Linked DNA regions of Homo sapiens: regions 1, 2, 4, 5 and 6 are each linked to region 3. Evidence: promoter capture Hi-C in 16 types of primary human blood cells and fetal thymus (Javierre and others, 2016). All regions are on one chromosome and are shown on one strand. Each heading gives the region's core, a stretch centred on a gene start or on the middle of the fragment in contact. The rest is flanking DNA. Distances are from core to core; before and after follow the strand shown.

Region 1 (3,028 bases), core at 124-2,623, 760 kb after region 3:
TCAGTCATTGAGCCCCCGCTCGAGGATGGCCCCCACCCCAAAGGTCCTGTGTGCCCTGAGTAAGCCACTGGCTCTCAGAGGTGCCCACGTACCCTTCCTTTCAGACTGAGGGGAGCAGTGGCCAGACAGGGCTCTGCCTTCACGGAGCTTCCCCTCTGCAGAGAAGGGGCAGAGTGGCGTCACTGGGCAGCCAGCTTAGATCGAGCAGCAGGAGGCGAGGCTCAGCCGAGTCGGACAGCTGGGGCCAGGCAGGCGGCTTGCTCTGCATGCCCAGGACAGCAGCACTGGGCTCTGTCCCCCCGTCGGTGCCCCCGTGTCTCTCAGGAACCCCTTCAGATGTGGTTAACACCTCCAACTTGGAGGCCTTTCCTGACTGTCCTGACCCTGTTTATTCTTCTCTCCCGTGTCCTTCTAGAACATACTCTCAGGCAAGGCATGAAGATGCTGCTGTGTGTAGAGCCTCACTTCCCTGCCCTTGCCCCTGTCCTTGACAGCAGCTCCGTGCGGGCCTAGCAATACCCGTTGGGCATCAGTGCCAAGAGCTGCCCTGCCTGGGGGTTCCTGGTGGTGTAGACGTGGACGCCTCCACACCTGTGCAGTGAGGCCCATGGGGCAGCTCCGAGGGGGAAGCTGTTCACCTGCTGCCTGTTGTGAAGAGAAGGGGTGATCTCCAGGCAGGGGACTGGGCGGGCTTCGGGGCGGCTGATGTGCAAGGGGCTGGGATGGGCGGGGGTCCTCAGGGTGGGCTTCGAGACAGCTGATGTGTAGGGGGCTGGGCTGGGCGGGGGTCCTCAGGGCGGGCTTCGGGATGGCTGATGTGCAGTTGCACAGTGGCCCCGTGCCCTTGGAGCCATTCTGACCTCTGGGGCAGAGGCTAGGGCACCGACACAGCAGACATGAAGGAGGGTAGTGTTTTTCATATTTTCTAGCAGTAATTGCAGTGGTGTGTATGTGCCTGTGTCACCGCCGCAGCAGGTTCTGGGATCTTCTCTTGGTCCCGAGTGTTTGGGGCAGTGTCCACATCCTTCATTCTCTCGTGTCTTCATCGGCATAATGGGCCCTTCCTGGGGCTTGGCTTCCCGGGGGCTTCACGCGTAGATCTTTCGTGAAGCACAGAAGCTTCCAGGCTGTCTCAGTGGTGCCGTGACCTTCCAGTGAGGGATCCACTCCTTAGAGCCTCACGCTCTCCTGCTCACCAGGGCACCAGCTTTTCCAAGAGCTGCTGGGTGGATCCCAGAACAGTCCCTCCGTGTCCTTAGTGCCTGAGCACAGGCCTCCTCGTCTGTGTTCTTGGGCTGCGAGCGTGGCCCACAGAATGCCCTGTGCCCGTTGCGCCTTCAGCCGTGTGCACCCTTGGGGGTGTCCCGCTTGTGGTGCCTGCCCACCCCTGCACTAGCCCAGGTCTCGTTGGTCCCACACTCTTGCCCAGAAAATGGAGCCAGGCTGAGGATGGGGACATTTGGCCAAGAGTGTCAGAGCCAGGCTCTGGCCCCCTCAGAGTAGAGATCAGTCTTGCCTGCTAATGGCATTACCTCATCTCGGACCTGGGCAAACAAGGCAAGGGTGATTTGAGAAGATCCTCGTCTGTTTCTAATTAAATTTCTATCTCTGCTTTCACAAAAGCTTCTCTTTTATCTCTTCCTCCTAATTATTTTTAAAATCTCAAGGAAAATACATCCCTTCCACTTACGATTCCGCAGAGAACCAAATTGCTACTCTGTTTCTAAAGTGTGTTATTGTGGTCTCTGATACTAAGCCAAGGTTTCTGTAATCCCACTAAAATTTTATCTCACATCACAGAAATTTAGGATTCCCCCAAGGAGACACCACAGGAGGAAATACTAGCTTATAAAAAGCCACGTGGATACCTTGTCGTGGGTCTCAGTGGACCGTGGCTCCTTCTTGGGCCTTGGGGTGAGCGTGGCCCGGCGTCACTGCAGGCGGCGCTGGCGTGGTTGGGAGGGTCCCTCAGGGCTTTCCCTTGGAGCGACAAGGGGGCAGATGCCACCCTGCTGGATTCCCACCTAGGGCCTCTGTGTCTGGGGCCTTCAGGGAAGAGGCCAACCTGTAGGGGCCGGGGGCTCACGAAGGCAGTGCTTTCATGGCGCCAGGCAACCCGAGGACCCTCCGACATAGGCTTTTCGAGACTCTCAGTTGCCCTGGGCAGGCTGGCAGCAGAACCTCCTGGCTGGGCCGGGTGGGGGGTGTCCCTGCCGGGCTCCTGCCACTGTTAAGGAGCGAGGGAAGGTTCTGGGGTGGTTTGAGTTGGAAACCTCGCCTTCTAAGAGTGGACCAGCCCACTGCTGCCCCTTCCTCCCCGTGGGCCTGGGCCACCATCTCACCAGGCCCTCTTAGGACGCTGACTTCTGCTTTTCTTCAGCAGGGAGACCCCTTGTCCAGCCTTGTCTCTAGCCCGTGGGTTGTGGGGGAACCAGAAGGCTCCTCCTCTGTGGACCTGAGGCTCCCAGCCTGGGAAGTCTACATGCTGGCTGGCAGGCTAGTAAGATGCCCATTTTTGGCAACTGTTGAAGCGTGTTTTGTCATGTCCTAGGATGCCCCATGGATGCACCTAACAGGGTCCCCAGGGCCTGCCCACCTCCCAGAGCCCAGGCCTGCCACGGTTTGCTTCCGTCTGTGCAGAGCCTGGCTGGCTGTGACCACGCTCCATCTCAGCACACGGCAGCTGCTGGGGTGGAGTTCTGGACTTGGTGCCTTCTGTACGCCCTCCTTAGTCTCATCTCTAGCGTGTTACCTGGGCTCGTGTACATTCTGTTGAATTTAGTTCCTAAAGTGCATTTAGGCCTCGGCAGTACCTGTCTCACCTGCACGTTTCTTGATTTTCTGTTTGCCTTTACAGAATGGGCCAGCTGGGCTCAGTCTTATCTTTAACACCACCCCGGCCACCCCATCTCAGGAGGCTGAGGCTTAAGCCCAGCCTGGGCAATGTAGCAAGATCCTGTCTCTACAGAAACAAACAAAACATCCAGAACGTCCACCTGAAACCTTAGTGCCGCATCGAGTTTAGGTG
Region 2 (2,997 bases), core at 105-2,604, 780 kb after region 3:
GCCAAGAGAGGCAGGACCCTGGATGGGCGCTAGGACAGAAAATGGGCACCAGGGAAAAACGGAGGAAATCTGAATCAAGTCCGGGCTTTTTCTGTCATGACACCTAAGCACAGCATCCTGATGGAAGGTGTTAGTTGTAGGGCATGGAGGGTGCAGAGTACAGGAATGGAAGATGTTAGTTGTAGGGCATGGAGGGTGCAGAGTATAGGATAAGTCTCTACTAGCTTTAATTTTTCTATAAACTCACAGCTGTTCTAAAACAACACCTTTGTTTGAAAAATATGAAAGGATGGGGAGATTGGCTGCAATGAAGACTGTGTCGTTACTGTTTCCCAGTAGCCCTAAGCTTCCGTTCCCGTGTCTGAAAAGCAGCTCTGTTAGCACAGTGGGGTGTGCACAGTGAGGTGTGACCTATACTACTCTTGAGTCACAGCGGTTTCATTGTTTTTGTCTATGTCAGCAACCCCCCACCAAACACACTTTAGAATGTTAATTTATCCAGCCGGGAGCGGTGGCTCACGCCTGTAATCCCAGCACTTTGGGAGGCCGAGGCAGGCGGATCACAAGGTCAGGAGATCGAGACCATCCTGGCTAACATGGTGAAACCCCGTCTCTACTAAAAATACAAAATACTAGCTGGGCTTGGTGGCGGGTGCCTGTAGTCTCACCTATTCGGGAGGCTGAGGCAGGAGAATGGCGTGAACCTGGGAGGCGGAGCTTGCAGTGAGCTGAGATCCAGCCACTGCAGTCCAGCCTGGGCAACAGAGCGAGACAATGTCTCAAAAAAAAAAAAAAAGGAATGTTAATTTATCCAATTCTCATTTTATGCTCATAACGAAATATTGAAGTGAGGTGCTAAGGTGAAATGTGGGACTGAGGTCTCCAAGTCTTCAGAATCAAGCGTGGAAAAGAGTTTAGGTGTAGCTTGTGTGGAGCTCTTGCTGCCTTCCTGTTCCCAAAAACCCCCTGGGCCTGACCACGCTGGTTTGTCACAGGAATGCAAAGTTAGTTTGACATGAGAAAAAAAAGTTTACTACGTTATCAGATGGAAGGGGAAATTATTTAATAAGCTGAATTGATGCAGAAAAGTTTAATACAGTTAAGCAAACATGTGATTTAAAAATATGTCTTGGCAAACTAGGAGTAGATGGGAACTTCCTTAATCTGATAGTTACCTGTTGGACACCTGCAGCAAGCAATACACTTTCCAGTAAAACATTGAAATATCCTTCGTAAGATCAGAAACAAGACCAAAGTGTCTTTTATCACCATTTCTCTTTAGTTACTGTACTGTAGGACTGAGCCAGCAGAATAAAGAAGAAGAAAAGGTGTGAGGTCTGGAAGGTGGAAACAACTGTCATTATTTGTACGTGACCTGATTCTATATGTAGAAAATACACGATAACTACAGAAAAATGATTGAAATTAATATTCTACGATACAGAACCAATAAGTAAAAATTAATTGTGTTTCCATATGCAAGCAAACAGAAATTGATAATGGAAATCAAATATCAAATACCTAGTAATAAATCTAAAGATGTTCAAGACCGCAACACTGAAAATTCTGAAACATTTCTGAGAGAAATGAAAGGAGGTAATAGCCCATGTTCATGGATTGAAAGATGCAGTACTGTAAAGATTATCTTCTCTCAAAATGACAGATGCAGTGCAATCCCAGGCACTGTTCGTTTCCCTCCCTCCCTCCCTCCCTCCCTCCCTTCCCCTCCTTCCTCTCTCGTCCTCTCTCTTTCTCTCCCTCTTTCTCTCTCTCTCTTTCTTTCTCTTTTCTTTCTTTCTCTTTCTTTCTTTCTTTCTCTTTCTCCTTCTTTCTTTCTTTCTTTTTTTCTCCTTCCTTCCTTCCTTCCTTCCTTCTCTTTCTTTCTTTTTCTCTTTTCTTTTCTTTTGGTGGAACTTGTCAAGTTAATTTTAAAATTTATGTGGCGGAGTAAAAGGCCAATTTTGCCCAAGATGATCTGGAAGAAAAAAGTAGGGTTTTTTGCCTTGCCAATATTAAGAGTTATTGTACAGTTATGGTGGTTAAGACAGTGTGATTATTGGCAAAACCAAAAACAAGTTGGCCAACAGGATTGAGATTTGGCTTATAAGGGAACTAATGTTGCCCATCCATGGTGAAAGATAAGACCTCTTAATAACACTGAGGGGACATTTGGCTGTTATCATAGGAAAACATACCCCAAACCCCTGTCTCATAGCGTATACAAACATCAGTGCCAGTAGATGAGAGACTTACATATAAAAGGGAACACTGCAAAGTTTCAGGGTAAAAATATGTTAAAATATCTCTGCAGCCTCCAGGAAGAGAAGAGTTTCTTGAACCTGACATAAAAGCAGAAGCTTTGAAAGATTGAGAAATAGGACCTTTGAGAGGATATCTGCAGCATTTAATTGACAGAGGATTAATGTTCAGAATTTGTAAAGAATTCCTCTGAATCAATAAGAAAAAGACAACCCAACTGGGGGCAAAAAACAGGTCAAAAAGACATGAATCCAAAACAGCCAGTGAAAAAGCCAATAAACATGTAAGAAGATGGTCAGTGTCATTGGTCATCTGGGAAAGACAAATGAAACCTTCAAGAGACACCCTTTCACCCCAACCTGGGCAGGACTAGGTGTTCCCAGGCAGGTCCCAAGGGTGGAAACCACACTTTCTCCCCACTCCCTTCCCCTCCCAGTTCAGGAGCCTGTGCGTGGGGCTTTCATGTACTTTCTTTATTGGCTCAAGAAACCTCCTTTCTTGTGTGTCGGTATTGTGATGTGAAACCCTTGGTGGAGGGCACTGGTCTTGGTGGGTACCTGTTTGCTCAAGGTCCAGCTTCAGACAAGCCGCTGGTTTAATTGAGACAGAACTGGATTCCGGCTGGTGCTCACTCCGTGATCCTAGGAAACTGCACAGCCCTTGAGGCCATTTCCCCAAGTGTGAAGTGGGGGGCCTGGGCCCTCCGGGTGAAAGTGAGGTTCCTTTGGCTCCAGAAGG
Region 3 (2,975 bases), core at 412-2,911:
CCCCCCCCTTCCTAAACCAAGGTATAAAAGTTAATCAAGCCCCTTCCTCGGGGCTGAGAGAATTTTGAGCGTTAGCCGTCTCTCGGTCGCCAGCTAATAAAGGACTCTTAATTCGTCTCAAAGGTGGTGTTTTTCTAACTCGCTCAGGTACAACAAAACATCCACGCAAACAGGTTGTGAGAAGTTACGTCTGCGTGCTGTGATACCTAGAGGAACCACTACGAAAACTATACATAATGATATTTCCCAAGACATTATCAGTAAATCAAGATGGAATTCTAAAAAAATGTACTGTATCCATTGGAAGGCACAAAAAAAAAAAAAAAAAAAAAATGCAAAGGAAACAAGGCAAAAAACAGCAGACATGAACCCTAAAGCTTGTTAAATGGATTTCAGGTGCCCTCCAGGATCTAAAAACCAGACCCTCCTGCGTTGGGGACCGGGAATCCGTATTTTTGACAAAAAGCAATTCTTCAATTATAGAAACATCCATAGAACCGGCCGTAGTTTACACAGCTGCATTCCCACTGTTTTACAATCGCATGATCATTTCTGAAAAGTTGAAAACAAAGTTAAAGAATATTTAAGGGGTTAAGAACAAAAAGCCTGGGGAACACAAAAGATTATAAAAACCCTTCCCAACAGCAGGCATACTTGGAAGGAAACCTCACATGCAAGGCTCCTTCGTGGAGCCCAGAGCCCAGGTCCTGACGGGAGCACATTTTAAGAGATGGACTTGCCGGCGCGGTGGCTCACGCCTGTAATCCTAGCACTTTGGGAGGCCGAGGCGGGTGGATCACGAGGTCAGGAGATCGAGACCATCCTGGCTAACATGGTGAAACCCCGTCTCTACTAAAAATACAAAAAATTAGCCGGGTGTGGCGGCGGGCGCCTGTAGTCCCAGCTACTCGGGAGGCTGAGGCAGGAGAATGGCGTGAACCAGGGAGGCGGAGCTTGCAGTGAGCGCGATGGCGCCACCGCACTCCAGCCTGGGCGACAGAGCGGGACTCTGCCTCAAAAAAAAAAAAAAAAAAAAAAAAAAAAAAAAAAAAAAAAAGAGATGGACTTGGAGCGTGTGCTTTTGTTTTCTATGCTATTCAATGTGTTCACAGCAGGTCCCCTGGATGAGACCACTTAGCCTTCAGCTCCGGAGGCGACCCAGGCCGGCCTTGCCAGGTCCCTCTCCCTGACAGGCGCCCCGCGACAGGGGTCCCACCCCGTCCCTCCGCTCCTCGCCCCCTCTTTTTCCACTTTCCCTCCCCAGCGAGAACGTTCTGAGAGCTAGGAATGTTCTCTAGGAGGTCGCTTTGACGTCCACACCGCGCCTGGGGGATTCTGCGGGGAGCACAGGACCCTGGGACGAGACGCAGAAGTCGCTCCACGCCCTGGGCGGCCTCAGCTCCCGCGACACCGCAGCAACTCAGAACCCAGGCAGGGGCCGGGCAGCCAGCATGCTGCCCCCACGTTCACCTCCAACTCCCACCTCTCGGCCCTCGCCCCAACCCGCAGGACCCTGGCAGCGCACTGGCTGTCTCCGCGGAAGCCCCCGAGGGCCTCGGCGCGGCCCCGCCCCCTGGAAGGTTCCCGACAGGCGCCGCGGGCACCCCGGCCGTGACGTCACGGCAGCGCGCCGGCCGCGAGAGAGGGCCCCGTCGCGACCGCGTCCCCTTGGGTCCTTGATCCTGAGCTGACCGGGTAGCCATGGCCTTGCGGCTCCTGAAGCTGGCAGCGACGTCCGCGTCCGCCCGGGTCGTGGCGGCGGGCGCCCAGCGCGTGGTGAGCGGGCGGCGGGGTGGCAGGGTGGCGGGGTGGCAGGGTGGCGGGGTGGCGGGGTGGGGAGCAGTTCCACATCTCCCCCGGCCTCTGGCGGCGGCTCCCAGGTCGCTCTCCGGGTGGGTTTGGGGGACCCCTCCTGCCTCCGGAATTGTTTGGTCTTTGGTCGTGGACAGACCTCAGGGGGCCACGAGCTTCTCCAGGCCATTTTATCTCAGCTTTAAGCAAAACGCTGGAGCGCGGAGGTGATCAGGGCCCCGAGGCTGCCCTGATGCGGGAGGCCCGTGTGCAGGTGGCAGGCCGGGGGCACACGCGCTTGTCATTAGATAATTCACGTAGCAGCCCTGTCAAGAGCCGTTTAAAGGTCGGGCCCTGCTGGGTGCTTGGGTGATGCCATGTTGAGCAGACACGGAGTTCAGTGCTTGTGTCCGCTTCCTTTTGCCTTTACTCTGACTGACTACTCTCATTTCTTAGCATTTTGCCCCCACCTTCTTCAGTGAAATCGTTTCATACATTTGTAACACAGTTGGATTGCTTTGTCACATTCTGCCTTACATCTTGGGATCCTTCTACCTAATGCGTTTTTTAAAATGTGCATACATTGAGCGCATTCTTTGTGCTATAAGGTTCTATGGATTTTTTCTTTGTGCTATAAGGTTCTATAGGTTTTGACACGTGTGTAATAGCATGTCTCCACCATTATAGGTTCGTACAGAGTAGCTTCACTGCCTTAAAAAATTCCCCTCTGCTTTACCTATTAAACCCTTCTTTTTCTCCAACCCCTGACAACCACAGATCTCATTAACATTTCCATAGTTGCCTTTTCTGGAATGTCATATAATTAGAATCATACAATATATTGCCTTTTCAGACGCCTTGAATACTTGGAAATATCTATGTAAGATTCACTTATGTCTTCGTGGCTTGGTAACTCATTTCTTTTTAATCACTGAGTAATATCTCATTGCATGGATGTACTTCAATTCATTCAGCAATTGAAGGGCATCTTGGTTGCTTCAAGTTTTTGGCAATTATGAATAAAGCTGCTGTAATCGTGTACATGCAGATTTCTTTTTGGAAATACATTTTTATATCATTTGGGTAATACCTGGAAGAGCGATTACTCATGTAGTAAGACTAGTTTTCTAAGAAGCTGCCAAGCCATCTTCCAGAGTGACTGTGCCATTTGACTCCCACCAGAA
Region 4 (3,000 bases), core at 486-2,985, 540 kb before region 3:
GCAGGCCAGTGTTGGGCGGACCAGACACGTGGGCTCCAAACACGGATCAAGGCCAAGGAGAAGCCCATCCCTCAGTTCTCACCTGTCATACTGGGAGGCATACTTGCCACCGGTCAGAGCCCTGGAATACCACAGCAGGGGCGGGGCCGGCTAGCCAGCGGCCTGCACACCCACAGGGGTTCTGGGAAAAAGGTGAGGTGGCAGGTCCTGCTTAGGGCTCCTGGGAAATGTACAGGAAGCCCATAGGGGTGCACTGGTCTGGGTTCTTCCTGCCCAGATGTCACCTTGGCTCTTTGTGGCCTGAAGCCTCTCGACCACCTCTCCACCACCCTGTCCATTTATGTGCCGTGACCAGTGACAGCTGGACTTCCCAGCGCCTCCACAGCTGTGTGTGTCTTGCATATGTCGGGTGTCACATGTGTGCCGTCCATACCACCTAGGGATGCAGTATGAACCCCCATGCTGTAGGCAGGAAAGGCCCTGCTCCATCCTGTACACATCCCCACTGGTGGAGGTGGAGGGGGTGCTGCAGCCACAGCGCCAGCCTCAGCCACCTGGCCTTTCTTGCAGAGTCTCTGGAGTGGTGGGTACCCAGTGTGCAAGCCCTGCAGAGCCTATGTGTGTCTATGTTGGGGTCGCGGGGCCCACTGGTCTCAACACTCCACCAGTGCTGGCCAAGGAAGCCCCAAACCGAGCATCACAATCTCCATGGCCCTTTCCTCTGCCTCTGGCTTGGACTCATCTGCACGCACTGGTCACATGGAGGCCCTTCCGCAGCTGACACTCCAGCCCAACCCTTGGTGCCAGGATCCTGCAGATGTACACCTCGGTGGGTGACAGAAGCTGCTCATGTCCCCAGGCAGGGACCAGACACCTGAACGGGAGGCTTCCCGGAGTGACATGCTGTCCCGTGTCCCCGCAGGACTCCGGCTTCTATCCGAGGGTCCTAAGGGCTCACAGGCAACAGCTGGGAATCACCGGGGTGGGGGGAGGGGGGCACCTGTAGGGCGCAGATTCGCGTCCCTCAGCCTGGCCGTGCGGCGAGAGGCCGCTAGCAGCGCCCTGCGGACCGGCCCGCAGCCCCGGCGCCCGCCCCGGACTCACGGCGGGGGCGTCGGTCGAGGTGTACCGCAGGATGACCTGGAAGGGCTGGTGCGCCTGCAGCTCGGGCGGCAGCGTGACGGTGAGCGAGGAGCCGTAGTCGGTGAACGGGTCCACCCTGAAGGCCAGCGGACAGCAGGCGGGCTCGGAGCCGGGCGCCTCGGGGAAGGCGGGCAGCGGGGGCGGCGGCGCGGGCCCCGGCCCGGGGGCGGAGAAGGCGAAGGCGCAGGGCGTCTCGGCGGCGGCGGCGGGGGCGCGACGGAAGGCGGCTGAGTGCAGGCGCAGAGCCGGGTGCGCGTCGAGCACGAGCGCGCGGGGCGCGGGCCGCAGCGCGCACAGCTCGAGCACCAGGCAGCCGGCCAACTCGCGCGCCTCGGGCCGCAGCTCCAGGCCCAGCTGCAGGTGGCGGAGGCGGAAGAGCTGCGCGCTGGAGGCCGAGGCCACGTCCAGGGCGGGCGGCGGCTCGGGCGGCGGGCGGACGGGCGCGGCCTCGGCGCCGGGCGCCTGGCGGCAGCAGCACTGCGCGGCCATGGCCGCCGGCACTAGGTGAAATCCATGGGCGGCGGCCGCGCCGGGCCGCGGGCGAGGGGCGCCGGGCGGCGGCGGCGGCGGGGCGCGGGCACAACAGGAAGTCGCGCCGGGAGCCGCCCGGCCCGGCCCCGCGCCGTGCGCCGCCCCGCTCGGGCTCCGCTCGGCCGCCGCCGGGGGCGCTGTGCGCGGGGCCGGGGCGCGGGGCCGGGGCGCCGGGCGGGGAGGGCCAGGAGCCAGGGGCGCGGGGAGCCGGGGAATCGAGCGCGGCGCGGGGCCGGGGCGCTGTGTTGGGAGCCGAGGCGCGCGGAGCGGGTGAGCAGCACCCCCAGCCCCTCGCTTCCTCCCCGGGCGGCGCCCGGGAGATCCCAGGAGGCGGGATCGCTGCTCCCTCCCAGACACTGCCGGCCAGGCCCCTGGGGCAGCCGCTGAAGGGACCCGGGAACCTTGGGGCCACAGGGGCAGGCTGCTTCCAGGTGTGGTTCGTGTTCCCGAGGAGCGCAGCGTCGCGAACTCAATGTCATCCTTTCATCCGGGGCTACGGGCAGGGCAGGATTCTCCTGGCACCCCTGCCACTCCTCCAAGTCTACAGGTGTGGTCTGTGCTGTGGGCCCTGCGGTGCGAGAAGCGCCGGAGCCTTCACGCAGCGCTGTCAACTACAGCAGCCACCAACCACGTGTGGCCATTTAGATGCGAATTAAATACAGTTAGAAGTTCAGTTCCTTCGTGGCAGGTGGAGTGAGTGAGTGTGTGTGTCTTCCTGGGAGGAGTGGCTAATGGACAAAGCAGGCAGGAATCATTTCCACAATCGCAGAAGTTCCTCTGGGCAGTGCTGGGGACCTCTCATTTGGGAGCCCTGTGCTGGGGTACGAAGGAGGGTCTGGCCCGCCTGTCCCCACCCCATCCGCCAGGTCCACCCTTCCCAACGCCATTCTCTGTGGACCTGGCGAAGGCTGCCCAAGGCTGAGCCTGTCCAGGAGCCTGAGCCCCGAGGGAAGGGGTGCTCGCCTGGCAGAAGCTGCTAGTGAGCTCACAGCGGTTAAATTTTGAGGCTGTGGAATAACAGGGGCCACCATGATGTCGCTGTTGTCATCAAGTAAGAATTCAAATTCCTAGGGACAAGGGGCTTCTGGGGCTGGGGAACTATCCAGGAACCCAGGACACCTCTCTCTTCTGCTCCATTGAGGTGTGGCCGTGCAGGGCTGGACTCGGGTACCGCACTCGACTCAGCGTCAGCCCTGAGTAGTGTTTCCTGTGTCTGGACTCAGTCTCCTCGTTGTGTAACCCTCTGTGTCTACCCTCCTTCCGTGGGGCGGGAAGGAAGGCTGAGAGGGAGAGTGTGCGTTCACGTTTGCGGGACAGAGCACTGAG
Region 5 (2,947 bases), core at 233-2,732, 630 kb after region 3:
CGGGGTGGAGGGAAGATGACTGGACTGCATATGGGCCTGGAAGGCCTAGGGACGAAGGACAGATGTGGCCTCGGAGCCCTGCACCAGAGAGAATGTTCTGTGTTCAGCAGCTTCCTAGCCATGCAAAATAAAAATCCCCAAATGCCATATTCTCGGAGGCCTTGGGGGCTGTTGCTGTAGCAAGATGGACAGGACAACCTGGCACGCTGGCCACGTGCGGCTCAGGCAGCCCATCTGGACTCTGTGGCCAGAGACCTCGTTGAGAAGAATGCCCTATGGATGTTTACCAGGAGGACTCTAGTGCTGGAAGTTTCCACACATTGTGGGGTTGCTGCAGTTTAATTTTGTTATAACTCTTTCCTTTTAACTACTGCATATTTATGCCCAGTAATCGACTTCCATTCTCCAGCTTCATTGTGAGGTTTCAATGCAGCATGAATGGCTTTGAATTCCAATCCTTTAATGTTGGGGGTGGCACCAAAGGAAAGGCGACTTTATGCTGTCTTAATTGCCGGAGCAGAAGAAACATTTCATCACTCCTGTAGAATTCATCCATACCATTCTCTATTGAAAACGGCTGGGCTTTCATAGCTCAGAAGCTGCCATGAGTAATATATTAATACCTGATGTAGGGCGCGAAGGAGCCGCAGAGGCCGAGAGAACTGCCGTTGCTGAGAGGCAGCGGGGCGACAGGCTGTGGCCGGGCTTTCCTCCGAGGCTCAGAATTGATGACTAGCTGGGGATGGGGGAACTGAAGGGCGAAGGGGCCCAGTCTCCACCTAAGCTTGGGGCTGTGGAACCGAGACTGAGCCCCTGCCCTGTTGTTGGCAGCCCCCAGTCTGTCCTGGGGTAAGGAGTCGGAAAGGATGGATTTGGAGGGAGTGTTTGTTTTGATTTCAGGTGGTCAGCATATGCCCTGCCGTGTGGTGGGCTCTGGGTTTTTGGCCTTGACGTTAGAGGCGGGTACTGCACCTTCTGGTTCAGGTCAGATGAGGGGTGCCATGTCAAAAGTGATGCTACCTTTGAACAGACCTTAACTCATTCATAAGCGTTTCTGTGGGAACAAGTGTCACTAAGGTCAGTAAGTTCTCTTCATACGGTCAGTTTTCTTCTCTTGGGCTTCTGTGCGTGGGAAGAGTGGGACCTGTTTTGGGGTGGCATGAGGGCCATGGTGCCTGCAGCATTAAATGGCCATGTCCCCTTGCTGCAGCCTCACTGACAAACCTCCTACTCACTTCCTAGAAGGAGGGTCAGGGTCCTACATGTCCCCTTGCTGTGGCCTTGCTGACACACCTCCTACTCACTTCCTGGAAGGAAGGTCGGGGTCCTGCATAGATTGCCCCCACCGTGACTTCCTGTATCACTGTCGGGGGATGAGGATGTATCCTGGAGCAAGGAGATGATGCCACGAGCAGCTGTCACGTGCTCCCGTAGCTGACGCCAGATGAGCACCTGCTTGGGGCTCGTGCTGTTTCATGCACTCACCATGTAGGTGTCAGCACAGTCCTGCAGGTGGGCTCTACCTCTGGAGGAACTGGGGGTAGAATGAAATGGACCATGTGCCACCCCCTGCATCTCCAGTCCCAAAGGCCAGTTCCTCTCCGTGCCTCTGCTTCTAGGCTGGTGGTGACCTTGAAGCTGAAGTTCAGCTTGTCGAGGTGCTTGGGCGAACACAGCCTCTTAGAGAAGAGGACGATTTGGAATACCTTTCTAGTTCAGTGTCGTTAGACTTTCTAGTGCTGTGTTGACTGTTCTTGGCGCTGTTACAGGCGCGTTTCATAGGTCTGGGCAGTACTTCTGGCTTTCTCATGCTGTCTTATGTCACGTGTGGGACTGCAGAACTAGAAGACATCATGTTCTTCTCCTGCAAAGTCCCCAGGACGCCTGGAGGCAGGTGGGGGTGACGGAAGGGAGCTAATGCTCCAAGTCCACTTCAGCCGGAGCAGCTTTTAGTGTTTGTTGTTCGGTCTGTTGATTACCTTGGAAGATTTTATTGGAAGAAAGCATTTGAGGACCAAGTTAATCTACTCTTTCAATACCAACCCAGAAACCTTAAAGAAAATCTTGACAGATTTAATAGGATAAGAGTTTTTTAAAAAATCTCTTTGGCAAAAGACTCCGTCAGCCGGGCTAAGAGACGAGAGAGAAAATACATACCACATTATGCCTGTGTAAGCTTAACAGTCAATATATAAAGAGCTTTTACAGACCAATAAGGAGAGCATGAGATCACCATTGCAAGATGAGCAGAACGTATGAACATTGAATCATTGTGCCAGTGATGAAAGGTTAGCATTACTAATCAATTCAGTGTGAAGGAGATTCCCTTTATGCCTATCATATTGGCGAGTTTGATGATACCTGTTGCTGGTCATAATAATAATTTCTATTTTGTAAGGTTTTTGCAAAGTTTAAGTTAATGTATGGAAATTTCCTTGAATAGGGCCTGGCATGTAGTAAGCATGATATAAATGTTGGCTGTTATTTATTATCATTTGCTCTCTGGAGAGACCCATATGTATTATTATATAAAATATAATAGGGCTGGGCGAGGTACCTTATGCCTGTAATCCCAGAACTTTGGGAGGCCAAGGTGAGAGGATCACTTGAGCCCAGGAGTTCAAGACCAGCCTGGGCAACATAGTGAGACCCTCATCTCTACAAAAAAAAAAAAAAAATCAGGCATGACGTCGTGTGCCTGTAGTCCCCATTACTTGGGAGGCTGTGGCAGGAGAATCACGTGAGCCTGGAAAGTCAAGGTTGCAGTGAGGTGTGATTTTGCCACTGCACTTCAGCCTGAGTGACACAGCGAGACCCTGGGCTGTCCCCCCCAAAAAAGTTTATATATGTAATGTATAAACATAAAATAGTGATTACCGAATTGCTCTCTAGAAAAGTCTTAAGTGTCAAAATCTTAAATGCCATTCTCCTTGTCCCCACAGTTCTA
Region 6 (2,980 bases), core at 300-2,799, 800 kb after region 3:
AGAAGATGCCTGGTGGATGGAAGCAGCTGGGAGACCTAGCAGAGGGCCCGGGCCACCCTGCAGTGGCAGCTGCTGGACCTGCAGTCCGCTGGACCTGATCTGCAGGGCGATGACTCTCGTGAAGCTGCTGAGTCAGTCACATTTGCCTTCAGAGGGCCCTTCTGGCTTTTAATGGTGTTAGCCCTCTGAGGCTTGCTTGCTCATTTCACCGGGCAGAGACTATGTTCCTCCGCACCCGAGGCATGCCCTCCTGTCCTGGAACTCCAGGGCTGCCTCCCGCTCCTTCCGCTTGTCTTTGGAGGGCCTGTCTTCCCTTCTCTCTGTCTGCATTTCCCCAAGGTGCTTGTCTGTCTGTCCAGGCTCTGCCTTCTGTGATGACAGTCTTCCTGGCCTTTCTGGTGAGCACGGTATCTGCCATCTGTAGCAGAGGGCACTGAGGCTGGCGGGACCTGCAGGGGCATGCAGGGTGCTGGCCGCTGGGGGCTGCCCGGTCCCACTTGGCATGGTGTCCAGCAGGCTGCTTAGCCCCTGTGACCTCACTGGGAGGGCCCAATGCTGCCTGCCCTGCCCCCATGCTGGGGCAGGAAGACCAGGACACCTCACGTGTAGCTGGCCAGCTTCCACTGGTCCGCAGTTTTCAGTGCTGTTCCATCTCCCTCTCCAGAGGGTAGTAGTCCCTGGGCTCTGCCAGCCACGTGGGGTAAGCGGTGGTTGGGGCCCTGCATTCCCTGAGCAGATATTTCATTCTCCTTCACCTCCAGTCCTGGTCCCACCAGCCCCTGTGCCCCGGAGGGCTGTGTGACCGAGACTGGTCTGCCCCTCCCTTGGCCCACCCTGGCTGATGGGTCAGCTTTGCTGTCTCTGATACCTTATTCACCCAGATCCTTTCTGACTTCCAGCATTTTGTGGCTGCTCTCTCATCTCCTGTGTGTGTGTTGTGTTGGTGTGTCTTTCTAAACAATCCACACACTGTTTCAGCAGAATCTTGGAGGGATCCTGACAACGTGATTGTGTTCACTCTGTTATTTTTGACCAGAAATGCCCTGTGGCTCTGAAATGCCACCCTGTGGCTGGCAGGTGGGACCGTGCCTCCCCACGCGGCCCAGGACACTGCTGCCTGCCAGCCCCACCCGTGAGCCTGCCGGCCTCACTTTCCAACTGGTTCTTTCCCTGTCCGCAGTGCCTGAGGCAGAAAGATAGAAAGTTTCTCCATCCTGGGTGGACATTAGATTGTTTGGGTTATCTACATTTATCACCCCCCCCATTACATGTTACATTGTTGTTGTTGCTGTCGACCCAAAGATTTCTGAAGAGCTTACTGTCTGCCCTTAGCAAGGAACATGGGTGGTAAGAAAGCAGACGGTTATTGGTTGGGGCGTCGTGGAGAATTGGGGGTGCTGTCTGAGAAATATCCTCTGGGTGCTTCTAAAACCGTCCACACATCCACAGCAAATCTGGATGGGGTGGAGCTGGTGACTGGTTGTTTCTCTACTTTAGAGGGAGAGAGAAAGCTATGTGGCAGTCCCAGCAGTGCCCCTCAACCGTGTTGATACAGAATACAGAGAAATCTCACTGAGTATCTCTCAGGGAGGATTCCACAGTTCTAAGTGATGATTGGTTGGAAGAAAGGATTTTTTTTTTCCACTGAGAATTTGGTTTGGTTTGTGTATTCGGAGTGTCACTGGTGGCCAAAAGTATTATCCAGGAATGAATTTTTGCATCATGACATCATTTCTGGTTAAAGGGCTTTTTATCTTTTTTCTTTTATTACCAGCTTTGTGTGCTTTAAGGCTGTGGACTGTAAAATGTATCCAGAGGGCCTGCGGAGCCCCTCAGTGGCATCTGGAAGCCTGTGCCGCCAGGACGAGGGAGATGGCTCTTTGCCGACCCTTGTCTGTGTTAGGGTGTCGCGGTGCAGCTGAAAGGGAGTTCCTTCTCAGCAGCCACATTTGACCCTAATGTCATGTTTTCGCCGTACCAACACCATGTCCCCTACCAGAGGAACCTGCCCATCTTTTAAGGAAGGTTTCCATTTCTGGACCTCACAGCAAGATGCACACACTGTCACACGTGATGCAGAACCAAACTCAGGCCCTCTGTGTTTCCAATGAGGGGCTCCGAGGGGCCATCAGAGCCAGGTGTCTGACCAGGTGAGGGAGGACTGGAGGTGTCCCTTGGGTAGCAGTACGTGGCCACGGGCGAGGGGAAGAAATTGAAGGCGGTTTAGTCAGGCGCCTGAGGAAGGGGCTGGCACTTCTTTCAGTTCTACAGCACCCAGCCCTGCGTGGGCCTTCCTGGGCGGGCCTGCCCTCCCCTGCCGACCTGCCTTCCCCGCCTTCCTGGCTTCCCTCTCCTGCTCTTGAGCCCAGCCAGGCTCCACCCCTCCATCCAGGTGTTTCTCATCCCCCCCTGGGGTGGGGGCACCCTGCAGGTGGTGGGAGTCCAGCTATGCTTTACTCTCCCGCAGACCGACTTCTGCCTTCGTGGATCTGCTCTTGTGGGTGTGTTCTCTGTTTTATTAATTCCTGTTTTAATAGCTGTTCTCCTTTCTCTGCATTTATTCGGATATGCTTGTTCTTTTAGGTTGAACATTTCACTTGTTAATTTTTAGCCCTTCTTCCTTTCGGATGGAGGCATTCAGGGTTCTGTGCTGTGCTTCCCTTGGGGTTCAAATGGGGCTGCTTTGGATAAGTTCTAATTTGTATTATTTAATTTGTAAAGCATATTACATTAACACTTCATAAAGTCTTGGTGTTTCTCAAGAGAGTTATTTTGAAATTTGCTTTTTGGTTCCTTTTTTATTTGAAAAAATGAAATATTTAGAAGTGTTTTTTGTTTCCCGAAAGTCTGAATTTTCCAAGTCATCTTTTTTGTTATTCATTTCTAATTTACTCCATTATGGTTAGAAATTACCCAGCTGTTGAATTTTACTGAGACTTGCTTTGTGGTCAATTTTTATGAATCTTTAATATATGTGTGA

Evidence for each region. The method cuts DNA at HindIII sites, captures the fragments that hold promoters and counts their contacts. A CHiCAGO score of 5 or more calls a contact.
Region 1: a contact is called between a fragment that was not itself captured here and the fragment with the promoter of NDUFA10 in region 3, in 2 of 17 cell types (naive CD4 T cells and total B cells). The highest score is 6.8, in naive CD4 T cells.
Region 2: a contact is called between a fragment that was not itself captured here and the fragment with the promoter of NDUFA10 in region 3, in 1 of 17 cell types (neutrophils). The highest score is 8.0, in neutrophils.
Region 4: the fragment with the promoter of RNPEPL1 here is called in contact with the fragment with the promoter of NDUFA10 in region 3 in 5 of 17 cell types (activated CD4 T cells, total B cells, endothelial precursors and 2 more); the score reaches 7.0 in activated CD4 T cells.
Region 5: a contact is called between a fragment that was not itself captured here and the fragment with the promoter of NDUFA10 in region 3, in 5 of 17 cell types (fetal thymus, total B cells, megakaryocytes and 2 more). The highest score is 8.2, in fetal thymus.
Region 6: a contact is called between a fragment that was not itself captured here and the fragment with the promoter of NDUFA10 in region 3, in 4 of 17 cell types (neutrophils, total B cells, fetal thymus and 1 more). The highest score is 9.3, in neutrophils.

What each region holds. Positions count from the first base shown.
Region 1 is chr2:239,261,025-239,264,052 of GRCh38, reverse strand. The region is part of intron 2 of HDAC4 (histone deacetylase 4); the gene reads left to right. Among named protein-coding and RNA genes, the nearest start is that of MIR4269, 43 kb to the left of the region's middle. RefSeq lists an enhancer at 1,501-2,000. The HindIII fragment of the contact is 504 bases long and covers 1,122-1,625 here.
Region 2 is chr2:239,240,955-239,243,951 of GRCh38, reverse strand. All of the region lies in intron 2 of HDAC4 (histone deacetylase 4), which reads left to right. Among named protein-coding and RNA genes, the nearest start is that of HDAC4-AS2, 49 kb to the right of the region's middle. RefSeq lists an enhancer at 1-81. The HindIII fragment of the contact is 2,011 bases long and covers 349-2,359 here.
Region 3 is chr2:240,024,028-240,027,002 of GRCh38, reverse strand. NDUFA10 (NADH:ubiquinone oxidoreductase subunit A10) reads left to right here and starts at 1,661. Exons shown (of 10, transcript NM_004544.4): 1 at 1,661-1,776. The coding sequence starts at 1,702. RefSeq lists an enhancer at 837-1,666 and a silencer at 1,475-1,734. The HindIII fragment of the contact is 3,872 bases long and covers 380-2,975 here.
Region 4 is chr2:240,567,219-240,570,218 of GRCh38, reverse strand. It overlaps RNPEPL1 (arginyl aminopeptidase like 1), which reads right to left and starts at 1,735. Exons shown (of 11, transcript NM_018226.6): 1 at 1,105-1,735. The coding sequence starts at 1,632. RefSeq lists enhancers at 11-649, 599-778, 650-1,288 and silencers at 1,049-1,098, 1,339-1,528, 1,669-1,728, 1,759-2,018. The HindIII fragment of the contact is 8,327 bases long and covers 1-3,000 here.
Region 5 is chr2:239,395,871-239,398,817 of GRCh38, reverse strand. All of the region lies in intron 1 of HDAC4 (histone deacetylase 4), which reads left to right. Among named protein-coding and RNA genes, the nearest start is that of HDAC4, 3.7 kb to the left of the region's middle. The HindIII fragment of the contact is 1,392 bases long and covers 787-2,178 here.
Region 6 is chr2:239,224,949-239,227,928 of GRCh38, reverse strand. The region is part of intron 3 of HDAC4 (histone deacetylase 4); the gene reads left to right. Among named protein-coding and RNA genes, the nearest start is that of HDAC4-AS2, 33 kb to the right of the region's middle. RefSeq lists an enhancer at 1,917-2,811. The HindIII fragment of the contact is 8,852 bases long and covers 1-2,980 here.